7 separate regions of the Homo sapiens genome follow, and regions 1, 2, 3, 4, 5 and 6 are each linked to region 7. Evidence: promoter capture Hi-C in 16 types of primary human blood cells and fetal thymus (Javierre and others, 2016). All regions are on one chromosome and are shown on one strand. Each heading gives the region's core, a stretch centred on a gene start or on the middle of the fragment in contact. The rest is flanking DNA. Distances are from core to core; before and after follow the strand shown. Region 1 overlaps AUTS2 (activator of transcription and developmental regulator AUTS2). Region 2 overlaps AUTS2 (activator of transcription and developmental regulator AUTS2). Region 3 overlaps AUTS2 (activator of transcription and developmental regulator AUTS2). Region 4 overlaps AUTS2 (activator of transcription and developmental regulator AUTS2). Region 5 overlaps AUTS2 (activator of transcription and developmental regulator AUTS2). Region 6 overlaps AUTS2 (activator of transcription and developmental regulator AUTS2). Region 7 holds the start of AUTS2 (activator of transcription and developmental regulator AUTS2).

The links. The method cuts DNA at HindIII sites, captures the fragments that hold promoters and counts their contacts. A CHiCAGO score of 5 or more calls a contact.
Region 1: a fragment that was not itself captured here is called in contact with the fragment with the promoter of AUTS2 in region 7 in 1 of 17 cell types (fetal thymus); the score reaches 5.2 in fetal thymus.
Region 2: a contact is called between a fragment that was not itself captured here and the fragment with the promoter of AUTS2 in region 7, in 1 of 17 cell types (fetal thymus). The highest score is 6.8, in fetal thymus.
Region 3: a contact is called between a fragment that was not itself captured here and the fragment with the promoter of AUTS2 in region 7, in 1 of 17 cell types (fetal thymus). The highest score is 5.9, in fetal thymus.
Region 4: a contact is called between a fragment that was not itself captured here and the fragment with the promoter of AUTS2 in region 7, in 1 of 17 cell types (fetal thymus). The highest score is 9.0, in fetal thymus.
Region 5: a contact is called between a fragment that was not itself captured here and the fragment with the promoter of AUTS2 in region 7, in 1 of 17 cell types (fetal thymus). The highest score is 7.9, in fetal thymus.
Region 6: a contact is called between a fragment that was not itself captured here and the fragment with the promoter of AUTS2 in region 7, in 1 of 17 cell types (fetal thymus). The highest score is 6.1, in fetal thymus.

Annotation. Positions count from the first base shown.
Region 1 is chr7:69,897,989-69,901,011 of GRCh38, forward strand. AUTS2 (activator of transcription and developmental regulator AUTS2) reads left to right here. Exons shown (of 19, transcript NM_015570.4): 2 at 1,298-1,510. Among named protein-coding and RNA genes, the nearest start is that of AUTS2, 300 kb to the left of the region's middle. The HindIII fragment of the contact is 231 bases long and covers 1,518-1,748 here.
Region 2 is chr7:69,881,233-69,884,250 of GRCh38, forward strand. All of the region lies in intron 1 of AUTS2 (activator of transcription and developmental regulator AUTS2), which reads left to right. Among named protein-coding and RNA genes, the nearest start is that of AUTS2, 280 kb to the left of the region's middle. The HindIII fragment of the contact is 463 bases long and covers 1,492-1,954 here.
Region 3 is chr7:69,938,496-69,941,256 of GRCh38, forward strand. The region is part of intron 2 of AUTS2 (activator of transcription and developmental regulator AUTS2); the gene reads left to right. Among named protein-coding and RNA genes, the nearest start is that of AUTS2, 340 kb to the left of the region's middle. The HindIII fragment of the contact is 1,704 bases long and covers 461-2,164 here.
Region 4 is chr7:70,010,532-70,013,231 of GRCh38, forward strand. The region is part of intron 2 of AUTS2 (activator of transcription and developmental regulator AUTS2); the gene reads left to right. Among named protein-coding and RNA genes, the nearest start is that of AUTS2, 410 kb to the left of the region's middle. The HindIII fragment of the contact is 1,773 bases long and covers 395-2,167 here.
Region 5 is chr7:69,958,171-69,960,870 of GRCh38, forward strand. All of the region lies in intron 2 of AUTS2 (activator of transcription and developmental regulator AUTS2), which reads left to right. Among named protein-coding and RNA genes, the nearest start is that of AUTS2, 360 kb to the left of the region's middle. The HindIII fragment of the contact is 179 bases long and covers 1,301-1,479 here.
Region 6 is chr7:69,980,000-69,982,818 of GRCh38, forward strand. All of the region lies in intron 2 of AUTS2 (activator of transcription and developmental regulator AUTS2), which reads left to right. Among named protein-coding and RNA genes, the nearest start is that of AUTS2, 380 kb to the left of the region's middle. The HindIII fragment of the contact is 1,825 bases long and covers 583-2,407 here.
Region 7 is chr7:69,597,116-69,599,815 of GRCh38, forward strand. It overlaps AUTS2 (activator of transcription and developmental regulator AUTS2), which reads left to right and starts at 1,360. Exons shown (of 19, transcript NM_015570.4): 1 at 1,360-2,700. The coding sequence starts at 2,539. CT66 (cancer/testis associated transcript 66) reads right to left here and starts at 509. Exons shown (of 3, transcript NR_148927.1): 1 at 1-509. RefSeq lists enhancers at 530-609, 1,790-1,839 and silencers at 920-1,339, 1,360-1,439, 2,604-2,673. The HindIII fragment of the contact is 6,527 bases long and covers 1-2,700 here.

The DNA of each region.
Region 1 (3,023 bases), core at 383-2,882, 300 kb after region 7:
GTTTTATTTTTAAATGTACATTTAGATAGTAAAAAATTTAATTGTTCATTTAAAAATAACTAAAATAATATAATTGGATTGTTTGAAATACAAAGGATACATGTTTGAGGTAATGGATACCCCATTTACCCTGATGTGATTATTACACATTGCATGCTTGTATCAAAACATCTTATGTAAGTCATAAATATATATGCCGACTATGTACCCCAGAAATGAAAAAATTTTTAAAAAGTTCATTTAGGACTGCAGAAACTGAGGAAGTGTGGTAAGGCTTCATGAGGGGGATTTTCTGTGTAAGAGGATTAGATCCACTAGTTTCCAAATAACTGAGTGCCAAAACATTTTCATTTTATTGCTTAGTGTGTGCATCATTTCTCACAGGGCAGAGGATATTTGCATGTATGTGGTTTGTTTGATGTTCTGAGAGCCCATTTTGCACGTGGTCTCAGAGTTGTAGTGACTTACTCCACTTCTGATAATGAATAATGTCAGTGTCCGGACACTAAAAGCCCAGTCTGTTGGAACCTTGGTGTGTACTGAGCTGCCTGGAGGCACAGAACTCTTATCAGGTCATGTGGCCTGAAATGCTTACCTGTAGTTTCTACAGATGCAGTTCCCCATTCAAGGACATTGATTTCCCATTTCCTACCCACCTCCCCTCATCCCCAACCACACACAGGAATAAATTAAAAGTTGCTGTTGATCTTGGTGATAATATTGTTGTTACATTTTGCAAAGAAAATGGAAATAAAGGATGCTTAGAGGAACATGTAAAAAAATATAATGCATTAAGGAAACATTTTAATCATATGAATAGACAGTTCTTTCTTGCTGGCTCACATCCACCTGGACCTGATAAATTCAGTTGGGTGCTATTTCTTTTGAATTGAGCATGCACTTAGTGCTCATTTTCTGAAACATAATTGATGTACCAACTTGGGAAATGAGTGTATTGCACTTCCTTGGGGAAGGTCATTGTGTGCTGGACCCAGCACCAAATCGAACAGAAAGCTGCTATCCCAGGGAGCAGTGAAATCACTTTTGATGCATATACTTGTGTTTTGTTTAGTTTTCTGCCCAGTAATAATAGAAAGGATATATATATTTGTGATGGCATTAAGGATTCAGGAAAATTGAGAAGCCATGTTTCTTAGTTTTGGGTCTTCTCATATCCCACTTTCCTATCCCTCTCCCACTTAGTAGTAACACCCTTTAGTATTTAGCCTATATTTTGGGTGTGACCCTAGATACCTTTGTAACCACCACTTCCCTTTCCTTCTCTTCTTTTCTACAGAAAGATGTAGCACTTAAGCCTCAGGAACGTGTGGAGAAACGCCAGACGCCCCTGACCAAGAAGAAACGAGAAGCACTTACCAATGGCTTGTCCTTTCATTCAAAGAAGAGCAGACTCAGCCACCCACACCACTACAGCTCAGATCGAGAAAATGACCGCAATCTCTGCCAGCACCTTGGGAAGAGAAAGAAAATGCCGAAGGCACTCAGACAGGTGAGGAAGCTTGGGTTCGCTCTTTCCTGTGGCGGCAAAATCCCTTCCTTAGGTGCTTCCTCCACTGTGGTTTTTCGTAACAGGTGGAGAAGATATCCTTGGTGGGATGCTGAAGTGGTTGTCCAACAAAGCTGTGTGCGTGCCTTTAAAAGAATCTAAAACCCAATCTCAGCTCTTTCTATGAGGATTTGAAACTTCAGCATGGTGCCCTTTCAGTCAGATGTGCTTTATGCAACAAAGCTTGATGCTAAGTGGTACTGGTATTTAGGGCAGACCTGTCTTAACAGTTGTCAAGATGGACTGGCTTGCAGGGGAGAGATCTTTGCAATTAGGATAAATGGAACAGGTGGATTTCATCACATACATTGTGCATCTCATGGTTCTAAGGTGCTAAAATGATTGCCTGTGTGTGAGAAATGCCTTGCTAAGATTTATATTTTCCGGGGAAGCTCAGATATTGTGGCATCTGGGAGGGCAATGGCAAAAAATGAATTTGCCTTTTGGTGTCTTAGTTGTTCTCCATAGGCTATAATTCAAGACTATCTTTGTGATCTGTTGATTGTATGAACGTCTGATAATGAGGCTTACTGGCCTGTTAATAATTAGGTTTCAATGATCCACAAGAAAGTATGGCTCTTGGCATTTGGGAAGCCTTTCTGCCTGTGGAAATCCCCACATGAGATGGATTAATAATGAGATATGAAGCTGTTTATAGCAGTTTTTCTGCACAAATCCAGAGGCTTCAGTGCCTGTCAAGTTAGTTACCTGTGTCCTGGGTGTGTTTTATTTATTTTTGGCAGGACCATTGGGTAGGATTGACTATCACTGAAGAAAGCAGAGGAAGGAATTGTGGTGTACAGAGCAGGTGCTGCTAATTAGAGGTGGAATAGGTAATTTTTGGTTTGCAGATGTTTCTCTGCAGAGGCAGGGAGATCTGGGATCAAACAAAACAATGGTTCCCAAACCACACAGATCTTGAGAATCATATAATGAGAGCTACTAAACCTAAATTTCTGGCCCCTCTTTAGGACCTAATGACATTTGTAGTTTTAGAAAGTTTCCTATTTGAAAACAGTCAGCCTGGTTGGAAGTCACTCTTACAAAGAATCAAGAGTGTATTTGGGTGATGGTTTTTAGTTAAAAGATTGGAAAGATCAAAAGCCTCAATATGATGTAGTGGGCAGTTTGGTGTCAGAATTCTGCCTTATACGTAGTGAAGCATATAATCCTGGTAAAACATCTGGGGTGATGGGTTTCAGATGGACCCAGAAGGCTTCCAAGGTAATGCCTAAATCTGACAACCAGCACAGTGTTTCCAAAGGTACACTTGTGTCCTGAAACGCCAGACTGGAGTTATAATAGTAATTATTAACATTTACCTAATGCATACTATGCTACATTCAGTGAGGGAGTTTTTATAGTATAACCTATAATTTGTACAACAACCCTGCCTAGTAGGTAATATCATGGTTACTTAACAGCTATGGAAACGAGGGCTCAAAGAGATAAAGTG
Region 2 (3,018 bases), core at 473-2,972, 280 kb after region 7:
TGTATGTGTCAGTACTCAGCTGGGAAGGAGAGTTTTTTTCCTCTCCTTTTTCCCCGTCTTTCCCTGTTCCATTAAGCCTTGTGTGGGAAGATTTTTGATGTTACATTGAGGTGTTCCCTAAAAGAATCCAATAAACCCATTTTTTTTTTTTAATGGTTAGGCTCTGGCAGGAGGCCTTGTAGGTAATATTTTCATGTTGAGCTGCACCTAGTAACTATTTTTGTATGCATTTATTTTCTTTTTGGAAATGGACAGATGTCTCATTTGGAAAGCCAGCAAGTTAAAGCAGTTGAAAAGAGATTAATGATAGAATCAGTGGTAAATGCTTTTTCAGGACTTCTTTTTGCCTCTCTCTGGTAGCAGTTAACATGATGGTCCTTTTAATTTTGGATCTATCAGGAGTACAAAGTATTGCTCTCTTCCCATGCCAAACTTTCCTAAAGTTTCCATCTTTCCATATGGTGATAGGAAATGCCTCCCCCCACAGCCCTGTCTCAGAACTTTCTCTTATTTGCATGTCTCATAAATTACAGAAGGCAGATTTAGGAAGAAATGCTGGAACTTTATATGGTGCTAGTATTTCAAGGAGCAAATTGTACTTTCTTCGCATTATTTCTCAGGTTAAATAGACCAAGTGGACCAGGCGTGGTGGCTCACACCTGTAATCCCAACACTTTGGGAGGCCGAGGTGGGTGGATCACATGAGGTCAGGAATTTGAGACCAGCCTGCCAACATGGTGAAACCTCATCTCTACTAAAAATACAAAATTAGCTGGGAGTGGTGGTGCACGCCTGTAACCCCAGCTACTCAGGAGGCTGAGGCAGGAGAATCGCTTGAAACTGGGAGACGGAAGTTGTAGTGAGCTGAAATCAGGCCACTGCACTCCAGCCTGGGCAACAAGAGCGAAACTCTGTCTCAAAAAAAAAAAAAAAAAAAAAAAAAAAGACCAAGTGATAGGCTGGGCGTGCTGGCTCATGCCTGTAATCCCAGCACTTTGGGAGGCTGAGGTGAAAGAATTGATTGCTTGCTCAGGAGTTTGAGACCAGCCTGGGCAACATAATGAGACCCCATCTCAATGTAATAAATAAGTAAATAATTTTTTTAAAAAGTGAAAAGAAAAAATAGGCCAAGTAATACAGCCATCTTAAAAATAAAAACAAAAATGGAATAGAGAAGTATGTTAACCTGCAACCCCAAGGCAACACTATAAGTCCTGGGTCATGCTCAGACCACATTCTAGGCTTCTGCTTTCAGTTCTGTTCACATGAATGAGAACATGAATGCTAGAGCCACGCAGGTCTGTGTTGAGTCCTGGTATTGTCTTTTCATAGCTATGTGACCTTGGGAATATTAATTAATAGTAATAAAAATAATTAATTTGGACTGAACTCCTAATACATCCTAGGCATTACATTAACTAATTTAATCCTAATAGCTGCTTCATAAGTTAGGTGATATTATTCGCTCCATTTTATATATGAGAAAACTGAAGCTTCACAGGGTATTGTAGTAATTAAATGAGGTATTATAAATAAAATATCCAGTATGTTGCTTGGCACATTCAATGACACTCATTAAACACAATCTTGAGGATATATGGAGAATAGATCCCACCATTGTTCCTCCAATGCCAAATGTAACCTTTTAGAATGACAGTTTCCCTTTTTAATGACTTACCAGTCATTAATTGTATCAGTCAGGAAGAGGAATTCCTCACATTTATTTGTAATTTATTTACTGCCTGTACCAGGAAGTATCCCAAGCACTTTCCACAAATTTCATTAAACTTTCTATTCCTGTATTCCAGGAGAAGAAATGGAGGCTCATAAGGGCCAAGGCATTTGTTCATGTTCGTAAAGCCAGAAGGTGGGAAAGCCAGTTCTCGGACTCAGATGTAACCGCCACCAATAAAGAGTAGGGATAGCAGTGAAGTGGTCTATTTTCCTGGAATGAAGCTTCTATGGTGGGAAGTAATCTAAGCAACTGATTAAGGAGCCAGCTTTGTGCACTTCAAAGCAGCCTCAGCTTCGGGGTGGAGCATAGAGTTCCTTTTTTTTTTTTTTTTCTTTAGCAGGCAGGAAGATATTCTTATTCCCAAAGAACTGAGAAATATTTGAGACTATCCATAGTACTCATTGGTGCTGTAAGGTTAGATAACTGCTGAGAAGAAAACTGATTGCTCTGTGTAAATCAGTATGCTGATGAGGGAATGATAAAACTGCAGGGTAGTACCAGCGTCAGCATCTTGTTTCCAACCCAGCTCTTCTCTCTCTTGACAAAACAGCTGTCATTTTGGATTAATGTTGAAATCACCAGAATCTGCTGGTCATCAGAGCAGGGCCGATGCCATCTTTGGGATGAAGTGTGCTGGCAACAAGATAGAAACTGGACATGGGAAAAAGGAAAGTCTCCCTCAAACATGCTGCCATCCAAGGCCCAGTTTAAACCACAGGCTCAATTTTTGCTCCCAAACTGATTTCCCGACTAACCCATCTGCTCATGCACACACCCTCCCAACCTCACACAGCAGGCCTGGCCTTTATCATTTCAGGTCCTGCAGAGCTGTTCTCTCTCACTGTGGTACTGATGCCAGTTTTAACAGCCGCCATGTGTATTGACTCCTCTACCGATTACAAATATATACGCGTTTGCCAGTTTGTTTAGTGAGTGGTTTTCATAGGCTGTGATGGGGATTTCACTTTCATGAATATAATTTGCTGAGCCTGTGGTGACATCAATAAATCCTTCTGGGATGGGGAATGGTTGATTTCCCTACATCCAGATGACATCCTCCAGCCCACTTCCTTATGGGACCAACAGCCAATGTCATAACACATGCTTCTTTGTGAGAGCATGGAAGGAAATTGTTTAAAGTGTGTCATCTGTGGGCACAGTTTCTAAGGTAGATACCTGTGAGGATGTATAGGCATGCTTTAGACATGGACAGAATGAGTTATGTACTTAGTAACTCAAAACTCTGCTGAGCTCATTGTGGACAGCTCTTACAGATAAACTAA
Region 3 (2,761 bases), core at 63-2,562, 340 kb after region 7:
ATGCATGATTGTATCCACCATTGTGAGATTATAAATAAATCTCAAGACATGACCTTGCCCTGAACCCAAAACTAAACATGAATGAAACTATAGAAATAACTGGATAACCTCTGGTACATAGAGGGTCGGTGTTACAGGGAGATAAGCAGTACACCCTAACCTAGGGAAGTGCAATGAGCAGAGAGGGGATGGAGTATGTAGGTGGAGAAGTGGCTAAGTGTCTTAGATAGACAAGGTGGAACCAAAGTACATAGAGCCTGGAAGCTGCAGAAAAGAACGTAGGCTAAGAAACAAGATCAATTATAGGTGGTTGAGTAGGTGAGTAAGACAGAAATGTGTGAGGTGATTGGAAGGGACTGCTACGATAAGCCAGCTGTGCTTACAATGGTGAAGATAAGGAATGGTGACTTGGGAAGATGTATTGGAGAAAAATGATAGGGCCTGCTGACTGAGCAGCTCAAGCTTTATGGGAACTGCTGATCATGTTTTTAACTGCTATAGATATATTTGATTTAAGTAAATCAATTTGTAAAGATTTAGATTTCATAATGATATCTTAGACCATATTTGCACAGCAAGTGAAACTTAAATACTCTTGTATCCCTATCACATCATGTTATCTTTAACATGTGTATCAACTTTCTTACCTATAAATGCTGGTGACACCTCCCAGTTTTCTAGGCTTAATTTGTAGAGGGCTCAACATGTGAACAATGAATTTGGTGCACCATTCAAGAAGTAAAATTCAATCATTTTTTTCTCCTATTCATTTCTAAGGATAGGAATCTTTGCCTTATAGAAATATTTTAAAGGAGCCCCCTTAAATGTCACACTCTCTTTAGGCTTAAACTATTCTTATTTCCAAAATGTAACATCAGAAGTTCAGAAATTCTTTCTACTTAGGTTCTCTGTGCCCCACACAACCTCACATTTTTGCCTGAGTCTCCCCAGTCTTGCTGCAGGAGCTGGGGTAGCTTCAGCCCACTTACATCCTGCCAGGGGATAAACTTGATACCTTTTGCTTTCATGAAACACTATCTGTGTGAAGTGAGCTCTTTGATCCACAGTCTTTTATGCTGAAGCTAAGGGAGGATTAAGGAACACCTCTGAGTTGATGAATATTTGATGAGGTTTATATAATTTAAAATTACACTCTTGTTAACCCTTTCACTCAATGGAGAGAGAAGAGAAACTTGTATAATCGTGGTTCCTACTTAGGCATAAGGTACTGTGTCTTCTCTGGGTGCATCCTCCTTATCTATGTAGAGCAGAGCATGGGAACTTAGTAAATGTCAATTGATGATTGGCATTTTTTACAGCTTCATAGAGAGAAATATCTCTTTGCTTCATTATAACCATACTGAGTGAGATGCTGAAGTGGAATTGGGATCACACAGTATCTGTGTATTTGACATTGCATGTATAATGGTGAACAAGGCAGATATTCCACTCATCATAACAACAACAGTAGTAATCATACCACCAGGAAGCATTCTTTCAGTGCTTACTGTATGCAAGGCTCTATTCTAAACTCTTTTCATCCATTTTAATTCTTAGAACAAACTTATAAGGTAGATGCTATTATTATCATTTCTATTTTATAGGTAACACAACCCAGGCACAAAGAGACTAACTCCCACAAGGTTTCACAACTTACAAATAGCAGAGTCAGGATTTGAACCTGGGCAGGCAGTTCTCAGAGCCTGCGTTCCTAACTTCTGGCTGGACCCCTCATGGTGAGAAGGGCAGAGAGTTGACAAATCCTCTGAAGTATGGTGAGTTCTGTAGGAGTCTGCAACAGGGCGAATTAACCTAGGGAAGAGGAAGGCTGGGAAGGCTTTCCTGAGAAAATGTCTTTTGGGATGAAACATGAAGGATGAGTAGGTGCTCTCTAGGTGAGGGCTCATGGACAAAACTATTCCAACATGTGTAGTGGCCACAGGCTGGACAGAATAAAATAGGTGATTTGGAGGAACAACAGAGAGAAGCCCATTAGGGGTAGAGAAAGTGAGAGAGTGTGTGTCATGGAGTGATGCCACAGGGGCCAAATCATGAAGTCCTCCGTAGGTCCCACTTCCAGGATGTGGGTCATGGAAATATAAAGGGCTAAGGACAAACGGAGCATTCAAGGGGTAGAACCATGGGTATAACATGATGAGATGTAAGCTTTAACGTGTTTCTCACTAGTGATGTGTCTAAGTCATAGAGGGAGACAGTAGAGGACAAGAGTGCAGTCAGGCAGCTGATGCTGTAATCCAGGTGAAGGAGGATGGCAGCCTGGACCAAGGTAGTAGAGGTAAGGATGGATAGAAGCTTAGGAGCTTATTAGGATGCAGATAATAGGAGTTCTGGATGTGGGAGATGAGGGTGAGGGAGGAACCAGTAACAATGCCTATGTTAACAGTCAGAAGAAGGTTACAATGTAACCAGACTGGAACATGAACAAATTATCTGCAGTGGAGCTTATTTGCTCAAAAGAAGGATCCTGCAAGAGAACATGGATGGCTTGTGTCATCCAAATATGGATGGCTTTGCCCAGTTAGAGAATAATTCCTGCTGAGAGAATACACATGCACGCAAGCATGTACACACGCACACACATTTGTTGTAGAGGGTTATACCCTCCCAAGTTAAGGTAATTTCATAATTGAGGTCGACCCTCTCGATGTGGTACCATTGATAAGCCCCAGCACTACAGTTCAGCTACCAACACTGAGTTTCTCATTGAGTCAAAGCGTGGGATGATCTGACAGCGTCAGCA
Region 4 (2,700 bases), core at 31-2,530, 410 kb after region 7:
TCCCCCTTGATGACTGAGTGACTGTGATGAGCCGAGCACCTGCTGACTCACAACAGCCATAGAGACATAAGAGTGTGAACAAGAAATAAGCCTTTGTTATTTTTAGCCATGGAGATTTTGCAGTTGATACTACAGCATTATGTAGCCTATCCTGAATGAGGTAGGATCATAATAATATGTTTGTTATGCATCACACAAGTTTTTGGGTTGTTTCAATCTAAAGATCTGAAATTATACCCAAACTAGATATTCTCCAGTATCACCAAACAGGATCTATCCATTCTACAGTGCTCACCAGATTGCTTCTGTCATACTTCACCTGGACATCTGTGGATTCTGGATATTAGAAATTGGAAGGAAAAGCTTGTAAGGGGATCTCAGTGCCCAGGGTCAAAGCTTCATTGTTGGGCAGCCAAGGAAGAGATTTGCTTGACTTACTTGAGTAATTTTTGACACATACTTGATTTGGTCATCAGGCATAAAGGATGGCCAGATTACTAGTAACTTATTGGAGATACACTTTTAAAATAGGAGTTAAGGCTACTTATGTGTTGATCTGAAATTAAGAAAAGGGCAAGATTTCTCCCTGTGGCCTGATTTTCAACCATGACTAAATAAAGCCTGAGGGGAGCCACTGAGGATGGAAAAGGTCACTCAGTCTTTTTTGCTGATGAAAAAATCGAGTTGTCTAGCTCTGGATTGACATCCAGCACTGACATGCTTTAGGAAACAAATCTTTTGATGGCAAAACTCTCACTAGCCTCACCTCTCCTCTCCTTTCCTCTCTCCTCTCCTCTCCTCTCCTCTCCTCTCCTCTCCTCTCCTCTCCTCTCCCTCATTTTTCCCTTTTCTACTCTCCCACTTCTACCCTCATTTACTTATTTCTCAATTTAGCTCATCAGGGCTTTTTGTTACAAAAAAATGGTGTGTAAGTTACTTAGCTGTAACTTGGAAACTGTTTTCCCATGAATAGATGACAGAATTACTACATGCCAAATTATCCCAGAATAGGTGGCTTAACCAATTGTATAATTAAGTTACTTTAATAATTACCAAGAGGGTCCTGAGCCCCATGGAAACCTTCACTGCTTGGAGGATGTATAAATGGAAGGTGGGCAGCATGAGTCTTTTGGACTGGTGGCCGGAACAAGCAGTTCTTAGCTTTTTTTAAAATCATCTTTCATATTTCAGAGCAATTCTTTGCATAATCCAGATTGCTTCTGTCATCCTTCACTTGATCATCTGTGGATTCTGAGCTTCAGGGTGGCCATGCGACCTTTCAGCCCTTGCTGTGGAAGGTGGAGCTCCTACCATCTCTGCCTGTGTTGGGGCTAGACGAAGTTTCCCTCTGACTGCCTCAATCTTTTCACTGTCATGTGTCCTGGGAGCCTCCTACACAGTGGAGAGGAGGGAGTATGAGTCTCAGGAACCATTGAGTTTTTTCACTGTGAGGTGGGACAGGCCTAAATTTCTCCCCTTAGGCCTGCCATTCACTGAGGGTGTGCAGTCATCATGCTAAGTTCTCTTTCTTGCTCCATTTTCATCTTCACTCACCCCTTACTTTCTGCAAAGCGTTGATGGTGTTGGGTTCTGACAGTTACCAGTTGGGGCATTTGTGATCTGTGGAGAAGGCAGAGATAGTTAATGAGTAGGCACATTTGCTAACCTCCTTGGACAGGAATAAGTTCAAAGGGGTGGACAAGCAGGATTGGCTGGAGGAGGCAGGTCTCCACATTGTTCTCTCTTGCCCCTGGGCCCTGGCGTCCAGGGTAATTTTTGTCTGCCTTTGTGGTTCATATTTTTAGCTCTCTGTAAGAGGCCCCCTTGGTAAATATGTCAGTTCATTGTTAAACCTAGACATGAGTTTGACATCTATTTTGTGAAACAAACCATGTAAAAATATGGGTCTTTATGGTGTTCAGTGTTCCAAAGTCAGGAATTTTTTAGTTTCTTTTGTCTTCACTTCTTGTTATTCTCTCACTTGCTTTACTTCTTCCAGCCTTTTCCTTTTCCACCTCATCTCCTGCTTCTTATTTCCTCATCTCTTTTTCCTTACCATTTTTTCCTCTTCCATTTCTCCCTTGATCTTTTCATTATATTCAATTCATTTCATTCATTGAATGGTGTTAGAAGAGGCTTTGTCTTTGCAGTCAGAAGGCTCAGGTGAAGCTTCATATTTCAAAGCACACTATGCTGACACTAAGAAAACATCTTGCCCGGGCACTTCAGTTGAAGAAAACTATATGATGTGATCAGTATGTGATGATGGCTTTTCAGATCAGATAGCTGGGTTGTATTTATAATTTATTTCTCTTATCAGTGAAAAAGATAAATGATAATGTAGTAACAGGATTTTCTAGAGTTTGGGTTGTAGAGAAATAAGTGCTCATGAATAGGACCGCATATGTGTGCATGTATGTGTGTTTTGGGGGTATGGAGAAAGAGGAGGAAAAGAATATTTTATAGAGAAAATTTCCATATGGTTACCTTTTATAGGATCTAGCACATTTCAATGAAAACACACTTTGCTGGAAGAATTCAATTCTCTGTAAAGTTTGGTGCAGCAAGGGGTGAAAATGTGGGGACACAGCTGGAAACTTATTTGTGCTGCAGGCTTGCAGCTGTACCTACCTGTGATGCGATGAATACTATTTGATTGTTAATGTCTTTCTGTTACTGAAAGCTTGCTTCCTTTCCTAA
Region 5 (2,700 bases), core at 140-2,639, 360 kb after region 7:
GCCAATCCCGACCTGGTATCTTTTTTTGTAAATCGGGTTTTATTGGAACATACCTGTACCCCTTGGTTTATGTATCTTCTGTGGCTGCTTCTTAGCTATAATGGCATAGTTGAATAATTATGACAGAGACTGTATGGCCTGCAAAACCTAAAGTATTTACTTTCTGGCCCTTTACTGAAAACAGGCGTGAACCTCTACTCTAGAATATAAATCAGGACTTGCTTCTGGTGCCACTGCATGATAACTTAGCCATGGACTGTTTGGCTTCTATCTCATGTTCCCTACTTGCAAGAAAATACTTCCATCAGGGCCAAGTGGAGGTGCAGTAGAGCAGGGGCAGAGCTAAAAGCAACACAGCTGGGCACATTTACTTCTTAGGTCTCTACACAAACCATGTAGTGTAAGGAGGAGACAAAGGGCTAGGAGTCCAGAGACTGACACTGTGTGGCCTTCTCTCTGGGCCTGTTTCAGATAGTCACTCTGCAACTACAAGATGGCACTGGATTAGTGATTCTCAGACGTTTTTCTGCACCAAAATCACCTAAAAGGCTGGTTTAACCGACTGCTAGGCTCCACCTCCAAGGTGTCTGAGTCGGTAGGCCTGAGGAAGGCCTGAGAATGTACATTTTTAACAAGTCCTCAGGTAATGCAGGTAGGCAGTATGACTGGATTGTTTTTGTGGTTGCCTGCCTCTTTTTGGCATTGGAAAGGGGAAAGCCAGAGTATTCCTTGAGGAATGACATTTGGAGAGAACCAAATTTTAGATGCTTCTGTGATATGTACACCAGAGCTATTCTGGACTAGATTGTAAATTCTCACATTTCACCTATGCAAAAGGAAATACTTTCTGGTCTCCTATTAGTAATCAGTTGTCTCAAATTTTGCCCGTTACCTCTGGAAATTCTGGACCCTCAAGTGATCAGTCTTTTAAGGCAGTGTGGAAGAACAGCACCTATTATGGCAGTTGATTTTTCATGGTCTCTACCCTGTCCTTCCTAATATAACTGCTATTCTTTACCTTCCTGTTTTTCAAAACTCTCGTATTGTTCCTGTTGTGTTTTTTCTAAATATTTTCTTGGTTACAATAAAGTGCTAATATTTAAAGAGCTTTTGGGAGCCTGCTGGTGCCAGAAACTATTCAAGTTACTTACAGAATACTCTCATTCAGTTCTCTCAAAAATCCTTGGGGAAGTTTTATTTTTCTCATTTTACAAATGAGCAGTAATTACAAATTTGGAGTCAGAGAAGCTAAGTAATATGTGATCTGGACAATTTCAATATCTATGTATATCAAAAACCAAGCTTCCTAGGTCTTTGACCTCCTCTCCAGTATCCCTCACCTTCACCTGCTAAGTATCCATTCTCATTTTGGATCTCGGACTTTGTTATCACCTAGGATTCGCCCAGGATTTCACTTTCTCGGATCATGACCTTCCACATCATACTGTCACTGCATCTCAGGAGTCTGTTTCTTGGAAAAGCTTTACGTCTCTTATCCTTTTTCTTTTCCAACAGAAATACCTTTCTGAACTATTTCTCTCTCTTAAACCTCTTTTAAAATCTGCACACTTCATACTAAATTGTATTGATTATGCTTCTAGTTCCCTAGTACATAATAACCTTTGGAAAAATTGTTTTGTCTTACTAATTGTTTCTATAGAACTCTGTACTGCACCTGGTGTATAGAAGGCACTCCATAAATAATGGTTTAACTGAGCTAGAGAATATATGGCCAGGGTCTGAGTCCGAGTCTGTCTTGCTTCACAGTATGGCTGCTATAGTCAGGTCTGCCACAGCTCTAGGCCTATTTTTTTTTAATCTGTCTGGATGAAGAAGGAATTGTTTAGTAGGTGATGTCATTTGTGGGATGCTTTGTCTATTTCTGCGTATCCAGCATGCTTTTAGTGATTTTTCATTTTGTCAGACTGCATTTTCTCTTTTCAACTAGAGTTCAAACAAAATAATTTTAGATAACATCCTAAGAACATTTGGAAACATGACATTTCAGGTCTATTTTCCCTCTTTGCCTTAAAAAAGTATATACAGCTATAATTACTAATTGCTGCGCTCTAAGTAGAGACAGATGATACATATGTTTGTGACAATTTTCCAGAGGGAGAGCTAAGTAACCAGGCTCATTTTTCCATAATGTGAATGTTATTCACAAACTATTACCATAATTGATGCACCAAACCACTGTAGAGTAAATAATGTGTTGTGTGTGGGAAGCAAGCTAGTAGTCAATGAATATTAAAGAACAAAACCTCATTTTAAAAGAGAAACTGTAATTAAAATCATTCTGAATTCATGCTGCACAACCAGTTAAAATAACTTGGCTGCCATTTATCTGTGTAATTCTGTGTATAAAGGGAGTAGGTATATGATTTGTTATATAGAAGTAAGTATTTACATGCACATTTTTATGAAAAGACACAATATCGAACTTCAGAATCAGTCGTTTTCCAAAAACATTTGTTGGAGAGATGAACATGCAGAGTTAATCAGTGAAATATATATTGACAGGAAAGATCACCATTTCCGTTATCTTATCTTTTGCTTTTCTAGGTGTTTTATGTCTACCTGGAATGTCGTGTCCCTTTCCGTGGACCTAATCAGCTTCTGTATTTTCTCCAAAGCTTCCTTTTCATCAGAAGTTGTTCTTGTCCACTTTTAATCCCTCTTACTGCTTTCTAGGTGCTC
Region 6 (2,819 bases), core at 245-2,744, 380 kb after region 7:
TTGTTGTGCACACATTAAGCTAAGCTTCTATCCCTTCTCTTCTCCACATGGTACCACCAGACTTTTCCCCACTTCACCCCCTCATCTACCATTTTTTGTTTTGTGTTTTTGTTTGTTTGTTTTTTGAGATGGAGTCTCTCACTCTGTCGCCCAGGCTGGAATGCAGTGATGCCACTGGGTTCCAGTGATCCTCCAGCCTCAGCCTCCTGAGCAGCTGGGATTACAGGCACCTGCCACCATGCCCAGCTAATTACATCAACCTTTTAAAACTTATTTTTCTCTCTAGAATTTGTTTGTGTGCACTTAAAGAGTAAGTGGGAGGATCTCAAGACAGTACAGAAAGAGTTGGACATCTAGTTCAGTTTTGCAGAGGGAGTGCAGAGAAACTTCCTTGGAGTTATATAATTGATTTTTGGAACCTCATTTGTAGGATAGTTGTGTGGAGAAAGGCATTCAAATTGCATTCACTGTACTTCTTAGGCCAAGGTAGATCTGGTTATGTACATACTTGTTATTTGGTAGAATACTGCTTATGTTGGCATTATCTTTTCCATACTACATTTATGAACTGGAAACAGTTAAAGCTTGAAACTGTTAAAAAAAAAAAGTGTACGCTTACATTGTATGTATTAGAAGTCATATGATTACACATCCTCATCCTCTCACCAGTCCTTTCATGTAGAGCAGCGGTTTGCATCTTTGGCTATACATTGGAACTACCTTGGGAATTAAAAAAAAAATTGATGTCCAAGTATCAACTCTGGAGATTCTGATTCAGTTGATCTGGGATGAAGCCTTGGCGTCAATTTTTTTAAAAAGATCCCCAGGAGTTTACAATGTGCAGTGAGGGCTCGTTTTAGAATGGTATATTGATTTGTGTTCCAATTGTTCTTTCTTGCATAAATCACATCTGTAATTCATTGACCACAGTTGTCTATGAGGCTTATTAAAAATGGTATAACAACTTACACATACATGAATAATTGGAATGCAGAATCATTTTAACTTCCCTTTCCCAGTCTTTCTATAGTCAGTTTGTATTTAATTCAACAATTGTTTTTTGAGAGGCCCACATTTATTAAATGTTTATCTTGTCCAGCTTAATTTCTCTAGAAACAAAATCTCACCTTCATTTTGTACTTATCACTGGTTTACATGTGGTAAATAAAATTAGCAGAAACAGGTTTGGGTATGGTCCACTGTGGTACACGGGTGTCTTATAGAGATGAGTATTCATTGGCTATGAAATGTTCAGTAAGTTTTACAAAGGAAACGAAGATCATCAGTTGATCTAGCTGGTCAGTTGGGGTCAGTTAAAAGAGCATTATTGTAAAAGATTTGTGGTTTGCCTGATTTTAGATCAGTTAACATTCACCCATGAGAAGGTAGGATGTATGTCATTTTTATTTTATAAGTGAATATGTAACTGTATTTTTTTATTTTGTATTTAAATTTTTATTCAATATTTCAAATTAATTAATTTCTAATGTTAATACCTAATATACATAGATATAATCAATATGATCACTGTTATCTCTAGAGTGAAGACAGTTTCTTGCCAACAATTTTTATATCCCATTATAACCATCCAGATGAGTTCATTATGGGCTTTCAGTACACACTATCAGCGCTTAAGAGTCTTGAGTTCATTCTGGTCTTTGATTATCACATGTCTTGAAATACACACCACATTAGATTTGTAAATAAATTGTAGAAAAATCTTAAGACTGAAATTTAGATATTAACAAACATTATTTCCTCTTGAGATATGCTAACAGACATCAGAGCATTAGTAGGTCACTAAAGAGTGAAGATGAGTCAGACCCATCAAAATACATATACTCGTTCTACCACTTGATATGTACACACTTCGAGTTGGTAATTTATTCCCAGTTGTTTGTGACGGTTGCATTTGTGCTTATCTTCTCTTAGTTTCACAAGGGTAGCTAATCATGAGTTTTTGTCTGTTTTTGCTGAACTTTACCTACTGTCTTATTAATCTTGTTTATATCAGTGTGAGTTTCTTAAGGACAAGGACTCGTAGGCACCAACACAGAAAGCAATTTTAGGAATATACTGTCTGAATTAAATGTATTAAATCAGTCAACAAATAGGAACCTTTTGAGAAATGGTCCTGAAAACATTTTTGTTTGCTTTTTTTCCTAGAGAGGAAATAAACGGGTTTATAAGCTGCTGAGTGCAAGTATCATGGTCTGTGCCTTTTCTTCTTGACTGCTCTGCTATATTCTCTTTCAGAAAGCTGAGTAGCTCAGCACAGTGAATACTAAAGGGAATGCATTCCTTCTCTCTCAGGGGACTGAAGCAGTGTTTAACACCACTGTAAAATCCTCAGCTGTGGCTTTCTCTGGTGTAGAATTTGTCTAAGAAAGATTAAAAGAACAAGGAAAGCTTTGTGTGCTGTTTCTCTTTCTTTTCTTCACCCCTCCTGCTCCAGGCTATCCTGAGGGGGGAAAAAAAACGTGGAGTATTTTCCTTGGACCTCTGGAGTATGCATGTTATGTATGTGTGAGTCTTAGAGAAAAATAAAGGCAAATGCAAGGCATGCCTGCTAGTGGGAGTCATCACCCATGGGTGAAATGAAGAAAACTACATGAGTGCGTTTGCGTTTATACGGCCACTTTTTCCATTGAATGACCCAAACAAGATGCCAGTGACAAAGCATTGGTCCTACATGTGATAAAACAGCGGCCTGGCCATTTGCTTAATTGGTGGAGAACTCAGGTGTGTTACTCTTGGCAGAGGTGAAAGCCTTCATAGAGAATTAGAAGGGGTATAATTTGGGCACTGTACTCAGAATC
Region 7 (2,700 bases), core at 110-2,609:
GTTTATGTGCCTGGACAGAAAGTGAAGCGTATCCAAGAGGCTGCTGAGAGCGGGCTGTCGGTCTTTCTGATCCGTATAGATCAATTCCAGTGCCCTGAAAAACGCACAGCTATTTTACCCAGAGAGGCTGGTCGCTTTTGTTGATCGATTCTCGGCTGCAGTCAGCTCTTTAATACAACTTTTTATGAGCATCAGCCACATTGCGGCGGGAGGAGGGGCTGTGGTGGAAAAAGCAGGGAAACCGCCCCCCACTCCCAAAAAGTAAAGGAAGCCCGCGGGGCAGGGACTGCGGTTTGCCGGTCTAACGGGTCCTCGAGCTGGGGCGGCGGTCCCGGCCCCTTCGGCCCCGCCCCTCGCCCGCGGCCGCCTCCGAGGTTCAAGTTCGGCCCCCGGCTGTTAGGCCTCGCGCTCCCGGATCTGAAGCCGCCCGTGCGTCCCTAGGTCCCCCGCTGGAAGACGAGGCGGGAATCCCAGGGGTCATCCGGGCGCGGGGTCGCTCGTCCACGCACTGTGGTGCCACGTGGAGGAAAAGTTTCCAACTCTGCCAGTTGGTGCTCCCACTGCGCCCAGGCGGAGCAAAGGCCCGCGCTTTGGCACCCGCTCCCCGTTCTGTCTCCTCCAGTCGCGCCCCCTCCCAGGGACGCCCCCCTTGTACCCCTTCTCTGAATTCCCTTCTCTCCTCGCAGCGCAGGTAGCCAAGGGAAAACACCCTTGGGGGCTGGTGGGGCTTCCCGAGAAGGCGGCCTCGGGCCGGCCAGGGGTAGAGGATCCAGGGACAAGTGTCCCGAGGAGGATGTGGGGGGCGCGCGCGCGAAGTGGCCTGGGAGCAGGGGCCCACACGCGTCCCCGCTGCGACAGGCGGGATCCTCCGGCGGCTTCCACGCCCTGGCGCGCCAACTCTGCCCGGCCGCGGCCGACCCCACGCGGGCGCCCCCTCCACGCCCCCGCCCCCGCCCCCCTCACAGCTCCCCACCGCCCCCAGTGCGCAGGCCCGGCCGCCCCAGCGCGCATGCCCTGGGCTCGCGAGCGCGGCCAGCCCCCAGCCTTTTGCTTTCTACACACTCTACAACTGGGGAGGGGGCGGGGGAGGAGGGAGCCCAGCCGTCCACGTGATCCCGCCGGCCGGGGCCGCGGGGGCGGGAGCGCGCGCCGAGAGAGGCGCGGGGAGGGCGGGTGCGCGGGAGCGCGCGCACTCGAGCGAGCGAGCGAAAGCACGAACGAGCGAGCGAGCGAGCGAGCGAGCGGGCGGGCGCGGGGTTGGGCTGAGGCGGGCGGCGGCGGCGGCGGCGGCGGTGGGCTGGCCGCGGAGGGGGAGGAGCGGGAGCTGCGCGAGGCAGGCGGGCGGGCGGAGGATGGGGCAGTGCCCGGGCTCCCGCTGCAGCCGCCCGGGGACACGCCGTGCACCCTCCGGCTCGGGGCTTTCTCGGCGGCGGCGGCGGCAGCAGCAGCAGCGTTAGCGGCGGCGGCGAGAGCAGCGTTCCCGGCTGCGCTTCTCCCTCAGGCGGGGCGGCGAGAGAAGCGGCGGCGGCGGCGGCGGCACACCGGTGTCTCTCCCGCTGGAGATTTCTTTCTGCTTTCCTCATCGACTGACTGACTCACCCCCTCCCTTTTTTGAGGAAGGGTGACCTCTTCTCTGGGACTGGAAAAAATATTTTTGTGAGGAGGGGGGCGGGTGGCAGCGACAGGGTTTGCTTCTTCTCTTCTTTCATCTCCCTCTCCTCCCCCCTCGAAGACCGAAAAGCAAACCCCACAACTGCTCCAGCAGCATCCTCCTTCCCTTCCTCCGCCTCCCTTCTCCTCCGCCGCTCGCAGTTTCGCCCTCTCTTCCGCTAATGATTGCATTATTATGCTCCCCTCTCTGGGGGGTCTCGCCCCTCTTGGGTCGCTCCGGAGCCCCGGCCTCCCCTGGCTGCATTTCTTAAAAATTTGGGAGCCTGGGAGTGAGTTTTCTCCGAGGCGTGTGTGAGAGGCGGCGGGGGTGTTTTCCTGCGCGAGGGGCGGGTGAAGTTCATTGCCCCCACTTTTCCCGCGACCTTTTTCGGACCCGATTTTGGATCGAGTTGAGGGGGGCGCGGGCGTTTTCGGGGGGCGGGGGGCGCGGCGGAGAATGGCCGCGGGGAGGGCTCCCCGGAGCCTCCCAGTCTCTTGATCAAAGCATTCCGCTATTCTGATTTATTGCTTGCTTGGTGAGTTATTTTTTTTTCCTCTAAAGGAGACCTGTGTGTTCAGCCATTACTTTGCTCGGCGCTGCTCCCAGGCATCTCCGACCCTCGGTGCTGTGGGGAGCCCCACACTTGGGCTCCTCGCCTCTCGCCCTCGCTCCCCGTCCCTCCTCCCCTCTCTCCGCCCCTTCCCCCTTTTCTTTCTCCTCTCTTTCTTCCCCTCTCTCCCTTCTTTCGGCCGCCGTCTCCCCCGCGCCCTCCTCGGGGCGGAGGGAAGCCGTGAAGGGGGAGGGAGGGCTCGGTGTCAATTTTTTTTTGTGTGGCTGCGGCCGTAGCCTGTGGCGGGCAAGCGGGGAGACCCCGGCGCAGCAGAACCATGGATGGCCCGACGCGGGGCCATGGACTCCGCAAAAAGCGGCGGTCGCGGTCGCAGCGAGACCGGGAGAGGCGCTCCCGGGGCGGGCTGGGGGCCGGCGCGGCCGGCGGCGGCGGGGCTGGCCGGACCCGGGCGCTCTCACTCGCCTCGTCGTCGGGCTCC